3 separate regions of the Homo sapiens genome follow, and all the other regions are linked to region 1. Evidence: promoter capture Hi-C in 16 types of primary human blood cells and fetal thymus (Javierre and others, 2016). All regions are on one chromosome and are shown on one strand. The core of a region is centred on a gene start or on the middle of the fragment in contact, and the rest is flanking DNA. Distances in the headings are between cores, read along the strand shown. Region 1 holds the start of TTC36 (tetratricopeptide repeat domain 36). Region 2 holds the start of JAML (junction adhesion molecule like). Region 3 overlaps SCN4B (sodium voltage-gated channel beta subunit 4).

Region 1 (4,163 bases), core at 1-2,500:
AGGCAGATGGCTTGGCCAAACCTCTCCAGGGCTGTGCTGAGGTCCCCAGCCTCTGCTGCCATCACCCCCTGCAGCTCCAGGGCCTTGGACTGTTCCAGCTGTGCTTGAGGGAAAACTTCATCTGGGCCAGGGAAGGAGCCAGGAGAAGCCAGGTGTGCAGTTGGTAGCAAGAAGAAAAAGCCACCTCAGGCTTTGGAATTCTGAGATCTGAGCCAGAGCTGACTGGGTATGGGTCACAGCAGGGGTCAGTTGCAGTGTTTGGGGTAGGGGGAGATGAGGTCACTAAGGCTGGGAGCTAGCATTGCCTGAGTTCCAAGAGACCTGGGAAGGGGCCTTGGTTGGTTCCCCATTGCCAAGAGAATGAAGCCCAGACTCCTCAATCTGTTAAAGAAGTTGCTCAAGTTCTTTGTGTATGGCCTCAACAGGCCATACGTTGCAGAGCTTGGATTTGAACCCAGGTCATTCTGGCTCCTGTCTGCATTTTACTCTACTACACCGCCTCTTATGCAAAGGCCACCATGACATTCCCAGATCATGAACATCACTTCTGACGTATCCCTCTGTGTTTCGGCCTGAGTTAGTAAGGTGTAGGCTTTACTCCTCTAGAAACAAAGGATCAAAAACTCCTTCATTAGGGATTAATGGAAAAGCCAGTGAACGCACTCACTGCGGAAGAGTTAGTTTGGAGCTTGGCTTGTGACAGTGTTTAACGGTTACTGGTTGTGCTTGCTATATTGGAACCACTCAACTGAGCAACCATGCCCTGCCTTATTTCAGTCTTCTGTTCTGGTGGTGGTATTCTCTGTTATGACAAAAATGTGAGAGTTTAACATCACCTGGCAGTTAAGCTTGGATCATACAGTCAATTAAGTGGTAAGTTCAGAGGCATGAGAGCTGATGGATCGAGAGACAAACCCCAGCTTACTCCTCTTGGCAGGACATCTCTTACCAAACCCCCATCAGTGCGCTAAGGAGCAGCCAACCTCTCTGATTCCAATCTCAATCATAATCATGGAACAAGGGGCCTTATAAAACCACCTCCCTCTCTGCTACCTCGGGAGGCCAGCAGGCCAGCCTATGTGCAGAGCTACACTCCAGATCAAATGCCCACCTTCTTCTCGTTCTTCCTTTTCTGCTTCCTCTCCGAGGTCCAATCCAACAATGTCTCCAAATGGGGTGTCAGGGTTGAAGATGGCCTGCAGCACTGCCTGATCATTTGGAGTCCCCATGGTGCTCAACTCCAAAATCCCAAAAGGTGACTCCAGATGAGAGAAGAGGGAGGGACGTGGTGAGGGTGGAGCCTCCAGCAGGAAGTTGATCTGAAAGGATGAGGACCACCCCTTCGTGAGGAGTGTCTCCCTGTCCATGGCTGTAGCATTTGCTCAACCTGTGGCCTGGAGGGTTGACCCTGGCTTGGCAGACTACTTGGTTATTTCTCAACTGCCCCTGCCCCCAGGAGAAACAGTAAACAAATCCAGCTTCAGCCTTAAGGTGGAGTGCAGCTAGAGAAGGTGTTCTCCAGCTTCTCCCTGAAATGCTTTCAGTTTATTATATTCACAGTTGAGAAAACCGATAAAAATCAATACTTAACCTCCTTGGATGAAACAGGGGAGCTATGTAGAAGGTAAAGGCCCTGTTCCTTTGTCCTCTTGACCCTGCCTCATATCCACAATTAATTAGGTCCTGAACATACATCACTGATGAATAAAGGAAGAAAATAGTCAAGAGAGCCAGTGTGGAGTGGACCTGAAGGTGGGCTACAGGGAATAATTTAGTGATGCCACCTTAAAGTAAAGGACTGTGGAAGGTACTTTGTGACCAGGTCACAGGCCATGCCCCTCCCGCTTTTCTCCACCCTCTCCAACCAAAGCCAAAAGGAAGCTTAACCATGTGCAGCAATAAACTTGACATGTTTATTAATTAAACTATCACTTAAATAAAAAAAAGTGCATAGAAAATAAACATGTTTAAAAACTCCTTTTTTTTACAACTATGTACACTTTTTACTTTTACATTCAGTCTTTCGTAGAGAGCTTTCAGCATTATTATTTTTTGAACTATTAAAGTATTTTCCTTCATCCCTGTCACAGGGAGTTAACACTGATGGACTTTAGACACATTTTCCTTTTTTTTTTTTCTCTTTTTCTCTAACCAGAAGCTTGGAAGAACACAAGGAAAAAAAACAGATCTGTTATACATGATAAAGTTGTCAAAAAATGTCTTATTTCTAGAAAAGAAGCTTGTCATCTGTTGAGCTCTTGAAACAATTATTCAACTACCTGTATTTACTAAAGAGACTGTTAAAAGTTCAATAAAAGAAACACCACAATTCTATTTTCTTGGTTGAAAGACAGAACTAGAGTACCTCGGAACAAGATACCAGGAAAGCACAGAACACAATTTTCCCCTAAATGCAGGTGGTAACCCCAACATTCATAACCAAAAATAGAGAAACAAGGAGGACAGGTACTGACTGGCAACATTCATGGGCAGAAAAAAATCCAGGTGACACCATGTCTGCATTTTTCTCTGATCCGAGGAATGGACTGTTCTACCATTCCTTTATGGTTAGAGGTTCCCCCCATTTCGGGAATCAGAGGAAAGTGAGCCTGACATCTTCCTGCCGCTACTAGCAACTGTAACACAATCCTTATCTATAGTGTTAAGAGAATTAAAAGCCATGGACTGAACTAGGCTTTGTTACATGGTGCATTACTATATTAGTTCCTATATATATCATATTTATATTTATTTGAAAACCAAAACAAACAAAAAGTTGCAAGTTTCCAGAGTGTGTGACTTGACTAGTATTCATGATTCGGCACAAAACCATCTGCTCCATAACCTTGTATTGCTTTAAAATGAAGGAAATGAAACATAAAATTACACCCAGCCCTTTGCAATGACCCGCTTTTCCTTAAAAACAAAAACAACTTGATTTCTATTAAAAAAAAAAAATCCCAAACCGAACTTAGAAGTTAACATCTGACAAGGTTTTGACCTTTAGTATTTTCAGATATTTGATTGAACGTCAGTCCTTTAGAAAGATACATTCATTAGAATATTTTTTTTATTTTTGTGTGTGTGTTGTATTTTTTTTTCCTTTTTTTTTTATTTTTTATTTTTTTTAAATCAAGGGAGCTACATGGTGCTCACTGCATTGGCCGGGGGTTTGACGGAGGCGAGCAGGGTGGCGGGCTGGGTCCCGGCAAAGGAGTCTGGTTGAAAACGTATAGCTGCCAGGGCTTCCCCCTTAATTCTTGTTATTGGTGTAAAAACAGAGGGGCTGTGCGAGAGGTGGTGGGTGGCCAAGGAGGGAGCCAAGAGACCAAGTTCCGGCCAAAGGGTCAGCGCCATGCAGCTATTCTGGTTACACAGTTGTCACTGGCCACCAGGAAATGCAGCCACAACAGGTTCTAGCAGCAAAGCTATAAGTGAGCTGGCTCTCACTGAGAACTGACCAGGTTTGCAGCTGTTACTCCTCAGGGATTTGGGATGCCCCTTGGGGGATTCTTGGGAATGACCCATCACAATTCCTCAATCTGCACTTTTGTGCGGAGATTCCCTTGGTCACTTTTGAAATGAACTCAGATGTGTTTGGAGATAGCTGTGCCGTTTTTGCCTTCTTTCCCTCTTGTAGGGAAACCTTCGCTTATTCCCCCAAGTTGCTGGCAGGTGTGCTGAAAATTTGGCAATGGACTCAAGGCTGAGCTAGAAGAGGAATTTCTCATTTTTGTGGTTGACAATTAGGGGGTGGAAAGGCAAGGCAAACCATCTGCAGCTGGCAGGAGAAGGAAGCTGTGGGTTCCTCCCCTGTCCTCAGGGTTTAGGGTTGGTAGAGAGTGAGGAGGGGCTCACAGTACAGCATGGCCTAGCAGGGCAGTAACTAGGTCTATTTAGCTGAGTTCCCCCCACCCCCTGACTGGCCTTTGGGTCTTTCTCAAGGTGAATTCAGGACCCATCAGTGCATTAATCATTTCAGTAACAAATGCAGCTTAAGGTTTTTTTTTTTTCTTTAAAAAAAATAGGAATACAAGGATTTACAAAAAAACCTCACACAGTGCAATAATAAAGGAAAGCAGACACTAGTGGAACCCCTAGGGCCACTGCATCTTGTTCATGGGCAAAAGGAGGAAGGGAGGTGAGGTCTGGGTAGAGTGCTT
Region 2 (4,689 bases), core at 1,648-4,147, 300 kb after region 1:
TTGAAGATAGAGATCTCATTGTGAGGGGGACTATTTTGCAGGTCCTCATTTCTCCAAGAAAGAGATGGTGTTACAGGAACCCACTGAAAGCCATATCCCATTAAATGAGGAACTAATTTTGGCTGGGCCTTCTTGTAATGTCCTCGCAGGTGTGTTGTGAAGATTAATGCAGGGTAGTATGTTTGTAGATTGACACCTAGTCTAAACTTGAGGTAATTGGTGCTCTGTGAATACTCAGTCGTGTTCTTTTATAGCCTTAATCATGATTTGAACTAGTCCCTTGCTTTTTAAATGACTGAATGAAGTCCTTCGTGGTAAGGGAGTACGTTGATAACTTAGTTTACTATATGGGTTTGTGGTCGCATCCCAGTCATCAGCTGCTATCATTTTCCTTCTTCATCCCTTATACTGAGATTTGGGTTACAGCTTTTTATTCTTCGAAGGATCACAAAGCAGTGTACAGACACCTGCCTTCTTTAAGGATGAAAGGAAGATAAAGTGGTCTTTTTTTGTTTACTTATTTGTTTCACCTCTTGTTTGAGTAACTTCTAAGGTGCTATTCTCTCTCTCTTTTTGCTACCTCATGAGCTCTTGTCACAGCCATGGAAACCAGCCTCGTTTAGAAAGGGAACTTAGTTCAGAAGGGGTTAAAAGCCTTCCAGAATTTTTCTTTAGCTGCTGAAGTTTTTACATGTGGTTACATGACTTTAAGTTTTATGCATTACGCTCTTAATTCTATTACAAAATGTGGACTCACCAATTGCTTTGTGTTTTCCATGTGACCTGTTACTTCAGGCTACTTGGGGAACATCTTAGTCCTCTGTAGCTCCTGAACCCAGCACTGGTGCTTCAAGAGAGAAGGTAGCACGTCTTTGTTCAAAACAAAACAAAACGACACTTCTGGAGGCCACATCCTGAATATGAATGTTCTACTAAGTCACTCAGTTATGGTTCTAAAGGGAAACTGTAAGAAGACCCACAAGGAGTGGACCAAGACTATTATTTAATTGCACAACTTGAAACTTTGCTGCCAGAAGAGGCAGCTCCATTCCTTTGACTCCAGTGTTGGGCTGTTAACTGCTGCACCTCATTGCCTTTTTTTGTTTTTGTTTTTGTTTTGTAGGAGGGTAGGCACTGTTGGGCCATATGCACAAATATTGTAACTCTTGGTATCTTTACTGCATCATAGTCAATAAACTTCTTTGTACCCTTTGGCTACCTTTTGGTGTGTGCATATCTACATAAAAGGTGGGAATTGTCATGTGAAAAAGATGGGGGTTTGTGGTATTAAAAGCTGAATTAAATTTAAAAGAGTTTAATTGAGCACAGAATGATTCATGAATCAGGCAGTCTCCTGAGCCAGAGTGGACTCAGAGACTCCAGCGCAGCCACGTGGTGGAAGATTTATGGACAGCAAAAGGAAAGTCATGTACAGGAAACAGAAGTGAGGTACAGAAATAGCCGGATTGGTTACAGCTCGGTGTTTGCCTTATTTGAATAGTTTGAATCATTGGCCATCTTCGATTGGCCAAACTCAGTGACTGGCACAAGAGTAGACTAGAGTCCGTATACTATTCCATTTACGTTATAGTTCATGATGTACAGAGAAACCTTTAGGCCAAACTTAAAATATGTAAGGAGGCAGCTTTAGGCTAAACTTGATTTAACAGTGGTTTTCAGCATCGTGCAACCAGTCATGTCGGAGCTGTACCCCCGCAAGAACCTGCAGAGGTTCCGTGGTGTGCTGGAACCAGCTTACATAGCAAGAGCTGATTACAGGCTGAGTACCCCTAATCTGAAAATACAAAAGAGTGGTTGCTATTTCAACTCCAAAATCTGTAACTTTGAGTGCCAACATGATGCTCCAAAGAAATGCTTATTGGAGCATTTTGGATTTTCAGACTAGGGACGTTCAACTTGTATGTATTCGGCAAATATTCTAAAATCTGAAAAAAATATGAAATCTGAAACATTTCTGGTCCCAAGCATATTGGATAAGGGATACTCAACCTGTATTAAGTTTTTTAGGAATTTTGCAAGCCAGTTGTTAAACTGTTGGTAGCTTGAAATAGGTTATGATGGGAATATTTATGCTGTGGAGATTGCTGGCTCTCTAGCACATCACTTCTCAAGGACCATGCAGCGTAGTGCTTGGGAGCAAACGTTCAACAGCTTTTCAGATGATACAGGACAAGTTCCATGAGTCTGCCCATGCCTAGGTCAAGCCAATCTAGCCGAGGTTGAAGGTGCGTACATTGAGAACACCTATTTTGAAGTGGTGACTAAGACTGAGAGGTATCTTGAAGTGAAGAAACCTTGAGTTCTAATCTAGGATGTCCAAGTCACCCAAGAGGTTCTCTATGGGAATCAATGGCTGCCTGTATTCTGGAAATGCTGATATCACATGGCCAGAGGAAACTTTCATGTCTACATGGTGAGTTGGAGGACTGGGCAGGCGTATCTTTGGAAGCAGGGATTGGGTGATTGCCTGGCGAGGTTGCACCTCTGTTTTGAGAGGAAAAATAAAAGAGGTTGCTGTATCTTTAACACAGAAGGTTTTGTGTTAATATTACGTTTATTGTATTTTGTTTGCATGAAATGGATTTCTTTCTCAGCACCTATTTGCCTGGTGCCATTCAAGCTCCTACCCTCAGAGGGCTTGTCATCTAAAAGGGGAGATGGCACCTGAAGAGGTCTGAGTGTGAGGTTCACCTCAGTAGGTTGAATTTGTCACCTCTTTTTAGAATGAAAGTATACATAACAATTGGGTAATGGGCCAGATGACTGAAATGAGAACCTTGATTTAGAGGTTCCTGTTTGCATCTCTGCAACCACTTCAGAAGGCACGTGTTTGGTTTGCTCTGAGCCTAACCTAGAGTGCTCGCAGCAGTCTTTCAGTTGAGCTTGGGGACTGCAGCTGTGGGGAGATTTCAGTGCATTGCCTCCCCTGGGTGCTCTTCATCTTGGGTAAGCAGTTGCTTTGAATTTCTTAAGCCATTTTTTGAACTTTTCTCACACAGAAGTGTGCCAGTCCTGAAGGCTGGTTGAATTGGTAGTCTCTCAGGATTGTGAAGCTGCGATTGCAGAACTCTTGATCTCTGCAGGGGGATGTCATAAAGTAGTCTAATGGGTGCTGTTTCAGTTACTGTCGTGTAGAGTAACTTAGGTGAATCTCCTCAGCAAAAAGAGGAGCAAAGTTTCATCATAATAAGAGTACGTGACAATGATTATGACAAGGCTTCAGCTTTTAAGTCACCCGTGGGTTTAGGTGGAGCTGTGACTGGCTGTTCTTGAGCTCACAGCAGAGCTCTTTCTTCACTGTTTTTCTTTTTAGAAGACAGTTTTTAATTTTATTTTTAAACAAATTTTATTGTGTGTATTTAAGGTATACAACATGATGTTGTGGGATGCATGTAGATAGTAAAAAGTTTACTATGGTGAAGCAGATTAATATATCCATCATTTTACATAGTTATACCACTGTTTTTCTTCTCCCCATTATAGACAAACCAATATTTAACCTTTAGAAGCCCGAGACTTAAATCTCCCAAGAAAGCTAGGCTACTGTCCATGCTTGTTACACCCTCAGCACAGCCCTGACCTTGGGAAAGGCTGATGCAGGATGGTTTAGGTATAACCTACTCTGGAGAAGAGAGCAGGAGTAAGGACCTCCAGGGTCCCATTCGCGTAGAGCATTAACCGATGTGACCTAGACTGTGTTACAGAAGCCACGTGACCTACCAGTCTGTATTCAATGGCTTAACAATGGAAAATGAGGGCATATTTTAAGACGCATGGCTTAGAGTGGTTATATGGACTTGTAGACCTAAAAACATCTGAGAGCCTAGAAGTGCACAGCAGTGTGCAGATAGATTGAGAGGACTTGGCTCTGCAGGTGGACAACACTCTGTGAGTAAAAGAAGGCTGTGCAGTTGTCCGTTTGCTCAGTGGTTAGTTGTCCTTACTAGGGACAAACACTGAGAGACAGCAGCTCTCCCTTATTTTGTCTCATGATATTGTAATTTGGGGGGTAACTTTCACATCTTGTATGGTAGTCTCATTGTAGCATGTCTCTTTTCTGAAGATTTCTTTTCTGTAATATAAAGGGGTATGGATTTTTTGGAGGGAGGGGGTGCCACTTGTTCTCATTACCCAACAGGATATGGAGGAGAGTTGCTCAGAGAAGATTAGTATAGAGTCACTACAAGTCATTTAGGTAGCCAAAATGATAACTCCAAAATTTCTAAAAGGCAAAAATCTTTACTTGCTGATAGAGGGGAGAGTCAACTTTCCAAGCAGGTCGCAATAAAGACAGCATGATGCCAACCGAATCTATTTCCTCTCTCCTCCTTTTTCTGTTGTTTATTAAAAGGTAAACAAAAATCTCATTATTTTAAAATATTATGCAAAAATCTTGTTTATGAGAGAAAGCAAAATTTCACCTTTGCATTAGTATATTATTAATGTTAGATCCAATTCTTAATAAAACCTTATAAACAAATCTATACAATCATAGTTTGACCATAAGGTAAAACGTCCACAAACCTCTCATAATTCTTTACAATTTTCTGTTAAACAAATAAATTCTCTAGAAAACCATTATTCAGACACATGGGCCCGGATTCTGGCCCTACATCAGTGTGCTTTTATTTCAGTGTTCGACCTATGGAAAAACTAAGTAATCCCCTT
Region 3 (3,383 bases), core at 305-2,804, 390 kb after region 1:
CTGAAAATTCAGATGGAGGTGATGTTTTAAAAGTTTGAAAAGGCAGATATGGCCTCCCAGGGAGCCCTAGGATAAGTTCAGGTATAAAAATAGACATCTATAAGGGGAAGGGGAGGGAAGATGGGGGAGGTACGGAGGGTGCAACCCTCAGGCCCCAAATTTTTGGAACAGTATCAGACAGGCTCCAGAGCAGCATGTGGTGAATCTTGCAAAACTAGAGCAGGGAAAAGGCATTTGAAAGTTGTGTTCTGAGCAAGACAGATGCGACGAGATGGCTTCCCATTGGAACAGAGAGGGTGATGGTAACCACGAGATGCAGAGAATGGAGAACTCCTCTGCCCCTATTTGCTGAAACATTCTGCTCTGCTGAGAAGAGGGAATTCTGCTGTAAAGGGCAGAACTTACTCTAGAAAGAGGGGATGGAAGTTGGAGGTAGGGAGGGGCCATACAGGTAGCAGCGCTGGGGCTGGGGAGCAGGGGAGGACCCCAGAACTGGGTTGTCGATGAAGAGCTCAAGGGTTGTCTGCCTGCCTTGTGGCCAGAGGCTGTGAGGGTTTTGGTGATCGTGAGAGGGGCTAAAAGCGTGGAGCTTAATTAGGTTCTGTTTTTCATAACCAGTCTTACTATCAATGGATGGAGAACAAATTTGTCAATATATGGTTTAAAAGCACTTAGAAAAGACAACGGTGGTCCTTCAGAGCCACAGTGGGTTCATCAAAAACAAGACATGCTAAGCTGGATGTGTGTGCCTGAAGTCCCAGCTCCCTGGGGGGCTGAGGCAGGAGGATGCTTTGAGCCCAGGAGTTTGAGTCCAGCCTGGGCAACTTAGCAAGAGCTCGTCTCTTAAAAAAAAAAAGAAAAAAGAAAAAAAAAAAAGGAATGCTAGATGTCTCCTGATAAGGCACTGGCAGAACAGGAGATTGCTCTGGAAAATACCACTTCCTGTCATTCATCAAATGCCTACCATATGTTAGGAATTCCACCAGGCAATTTTATACACTACCCATAATTATTATTTTACAATTGAGCAAAGTGAGGCTCAGAGTAGTGAAGTGACTTGCCCAAGGCCACACAGCTAGTAAGTGATAGAGCTGGGATTTGAACTGTGACTAATTTGGCTTCAAAGCTTAAACCATTGCCAGGATGTTCTACTGACTCACTGGGCATATCTAGAGTTCATTCATTTATCTGTTCATTTTGTGGCTGTTTTTGAGGCACTGTGCCAGATGCTATAGGAAATTATGGAAGGAATGAGATTCTGCCTTTAACTAAAGAAGACAAGATACAAATAAATGTGTATACAAATAAATGTAATACAAGGTAGAGGGGATCAGTGCCAGCAAAGAGGTTTGATACGATGCTGCTGTGGGGGTTCAGGGCAGGGTGAAATTCTGGGAAGGATTTCTGGCTGAATGGGTGTTTGTGGCAGGCCTTGCAAGATTAATATAACTTAAGCCCTGGGGAGAGTAAAGGGAAGATTCTTCCAGATGGAGGCACCACTGAGAGCCAAGGCAGAGAGTCTGGGAAGTGGGCTTGTCTGGAGAACAAGCCTTTTGTTTGTTGAGAGAGCTGTATGGTGAGGTGGTGGGGAGGAGAATAAAAGCCTGCAGAAGGGGTTGGGGACAGACACTTGGGGACCTGGGAGTCGAGGCTGTGATTGACTTCCGACGGCAGGGGAGCTGGCGAGGGCTTGCAGGGCCCTGGCACGATCAGAGAGCACAGAAGAAAGGATCTGGCCATGGTGGGCGGAGGGATTGGGTGGAAGAGCCTGGGGGCAGGGGACAGACCGTAGGGAAGCCTGAGGGAGGTCCTTGGAGTGGCGGGGAATGCCTGCATTACAGCAGAGACAGTGGCTTCTCAAGAACAGGGAGGTACTGGACAACATCTCACCATTGATTCTGAAACGTGGGTGCTGTTTCCTCTGTCTGGAATTTACCCTCTCTCTTTTCCTGCTCATCTTTCTTGGTTTCAAAGAAGCTTGGAAGTTTAAGGTATACTTCCAAAAAGCTTCCCTGACTCCTATGAGGAGGCTTCCTAGGTTGGGTCCCTCCTTCCTACATCCCCCATCCTGTTATTTACCACAGTGTGTCACAATCACTTGTTTAATGTCACATGCCCTAGGAGAGTGCACGTTTCCGACACAGTGCCTGGTACCCAGTAGGTTCTCAGTAGAGAATTATGGACTGCGTGGAATACAGTTCGGTGGGTCGTAATTGGCTGGGTTAACTATGCCTTAGGTACAGAGACAGAAAGAAAGAAAGAGAGAGAGACAGAGAGAGAGAGATGGATCCATCCGAATAGAGGTCTTTAGTGTATTCCACAGGGCTCCACCTGTTCATTGTTATTACTAACATTTGAAGTACACTAGGGATGTCACATTTATCAACTTCCAGAAGCCTAGTAACTATGTTGGAAGAAAAAGGGATCTAGGAAGATCTTGATAGGCTGGAGCTAGGAACTAGGTATTGCAAGATGAAATTAATGAGGACAAAATATTCAGTCCTTCCCAAAGGCCTCAAACCCAGCTGCCCAAGCCCAGGGTGAGGGTAGGATGTAGTTTGGCTGTAGCAGCTGTGAAAAACTTGGCCATTTTCATGAGCAGAAAGCTCAGAGGGATGCAGGTGCTCCCTGGGGAGTTCTGTGTGCCCAGCCTGGGCGCTGCTGTGGAGGAGGGACACACTGAAGTTGGAGCATGTCCAGCTCAGAGCGGTCAGGGTGGAACGCCTCCCGGGAGGTGTCTTCCCATCTCACCATCTCTCCTTCCTCCTGTCTTCTGCTCCGTCCCACCAAACTCTGCCTAGACCTGTCACCCTTGAAGCCAAACCCACTGCCTGCTCTGCCCCTTCCATGGACTCTGTTCTTCCCTTAATACCTCTAGTCACGGAGAGCTCAGGGAGGAAGGCCTGGGGGGCCCTGGGGAGAGGGACTCTGTGTCCTCAGCATACTCCTTGCTGGCCTGGACCCCTCCCCCTGGCGTGGCACAGCCTGGGAACTGACCCCTGAGAACAGCACCTGGTGCCCTTTGCTTCCTGCCATGTTGAGACAACTAGGTGACAGCTAAGCTTTATTGAGAACTTTCTTTTTTTCTTTGTTTGAGACAGAGTCTCGCTCTGTTGCCCAGGCTGGAGTGCAGTGGCACGATCTCAGCTCACTGCAACCTCCGCCTCCCAGGTTCAAGCGATTCTCCTGCCTCAGCCTCCCTAGTAGCTGGGACTATAGGCGCCTGCCACCACGCCTGGCTAATTTTTGTATTTTTAGTAGAGATGGGGTTTTGCCATGTTGGCCAGGCTGGTCTCGAACTCCTGACCTCAAGTGATCTGCCTGCCTCGGCCTCCCAAAGTGCTGGGATTACAGGTGTGAGCCACCGCACCTGGCCAGTTGAG

Evidence for each region. Contacts are between HindIII fragments. The CHiCAGO score rates a contact against its expected background, and 5 or more counts as called.
Region 2: the fragment with the promoter of JAML here is called in contact with the fragment with the promoter of TTC36 in region 1 in 10 of 17 cell types (naive CD8 T cells, non-activated CD4 T cells, total CD4 T cells and 7 more); the score reaches 8.8 in naive CD8 T cells.
Region 3: a contact is called between a fragment that was not itself captured here and the fragment with the promoter of TTC36 in region 1, in 6 of 17 cell types (total CD8 T cells, neutrophils, naive CD8 T cells and 3 more). The highest score is 8.3, in total CD8 T cells.

Annotation. Positions count from the first base shown.
Region 1 is chr11:118,524,561-118,528,723 of GRCh38, reverse strand. It overlaps TTC36 (tetratricopeptide repeat domain 36), which reads right to left and starts at 1,250. Exons shown (of 3, transcript NM_001080441.4): 1 at 1,112-1,250; 2 at 1-121. The coding sequence starts at 1,229. KMT2A (lysine methyltransferase 2A) reads right to left here. Exons shown (of 36, transcript NM_001197104.2): 36 at 1,892-4,163. The region is part of intron 1 of TTC36-AS1 (TTC36 and KMT2A antisense RNA 1); the gene reads left to right. The HindIII fragment of the contact is 1,033 bases long and covers 851-1,883 here.
Region 2 is chr11:118,223,219-118,227,907 of GRCh38, reverse strand. JAML (junction adhesion molecule like) reads left to right here and starts at 2,897. Exons shown (of 10, transcript NM_001098526.2): 1 at 2,897-2,967. It overlaps MPZL3 (myelin protein zero like 3), which reads left to right. Exons shown (of 6, transcript NM_198275.3): 6 at 1-1,218. The HindIII fragment of the contact is 17,664 bases long and covers 1-4,689 here.
Region 3 is chr11:118,137,382-118,140,764 of GRCh38, reverse strand. The region is part of intron 4 of SCN4B (sodium voltage-gated channel beta subunit 4); the gene reads left to right. Among named protein-coding and RNA genes, the nearest start is that of SCN4B, 14 kb to the left of the region's middle. The HindIII fragment of the contact is 851 bases long and covers 1,129-1,979 here.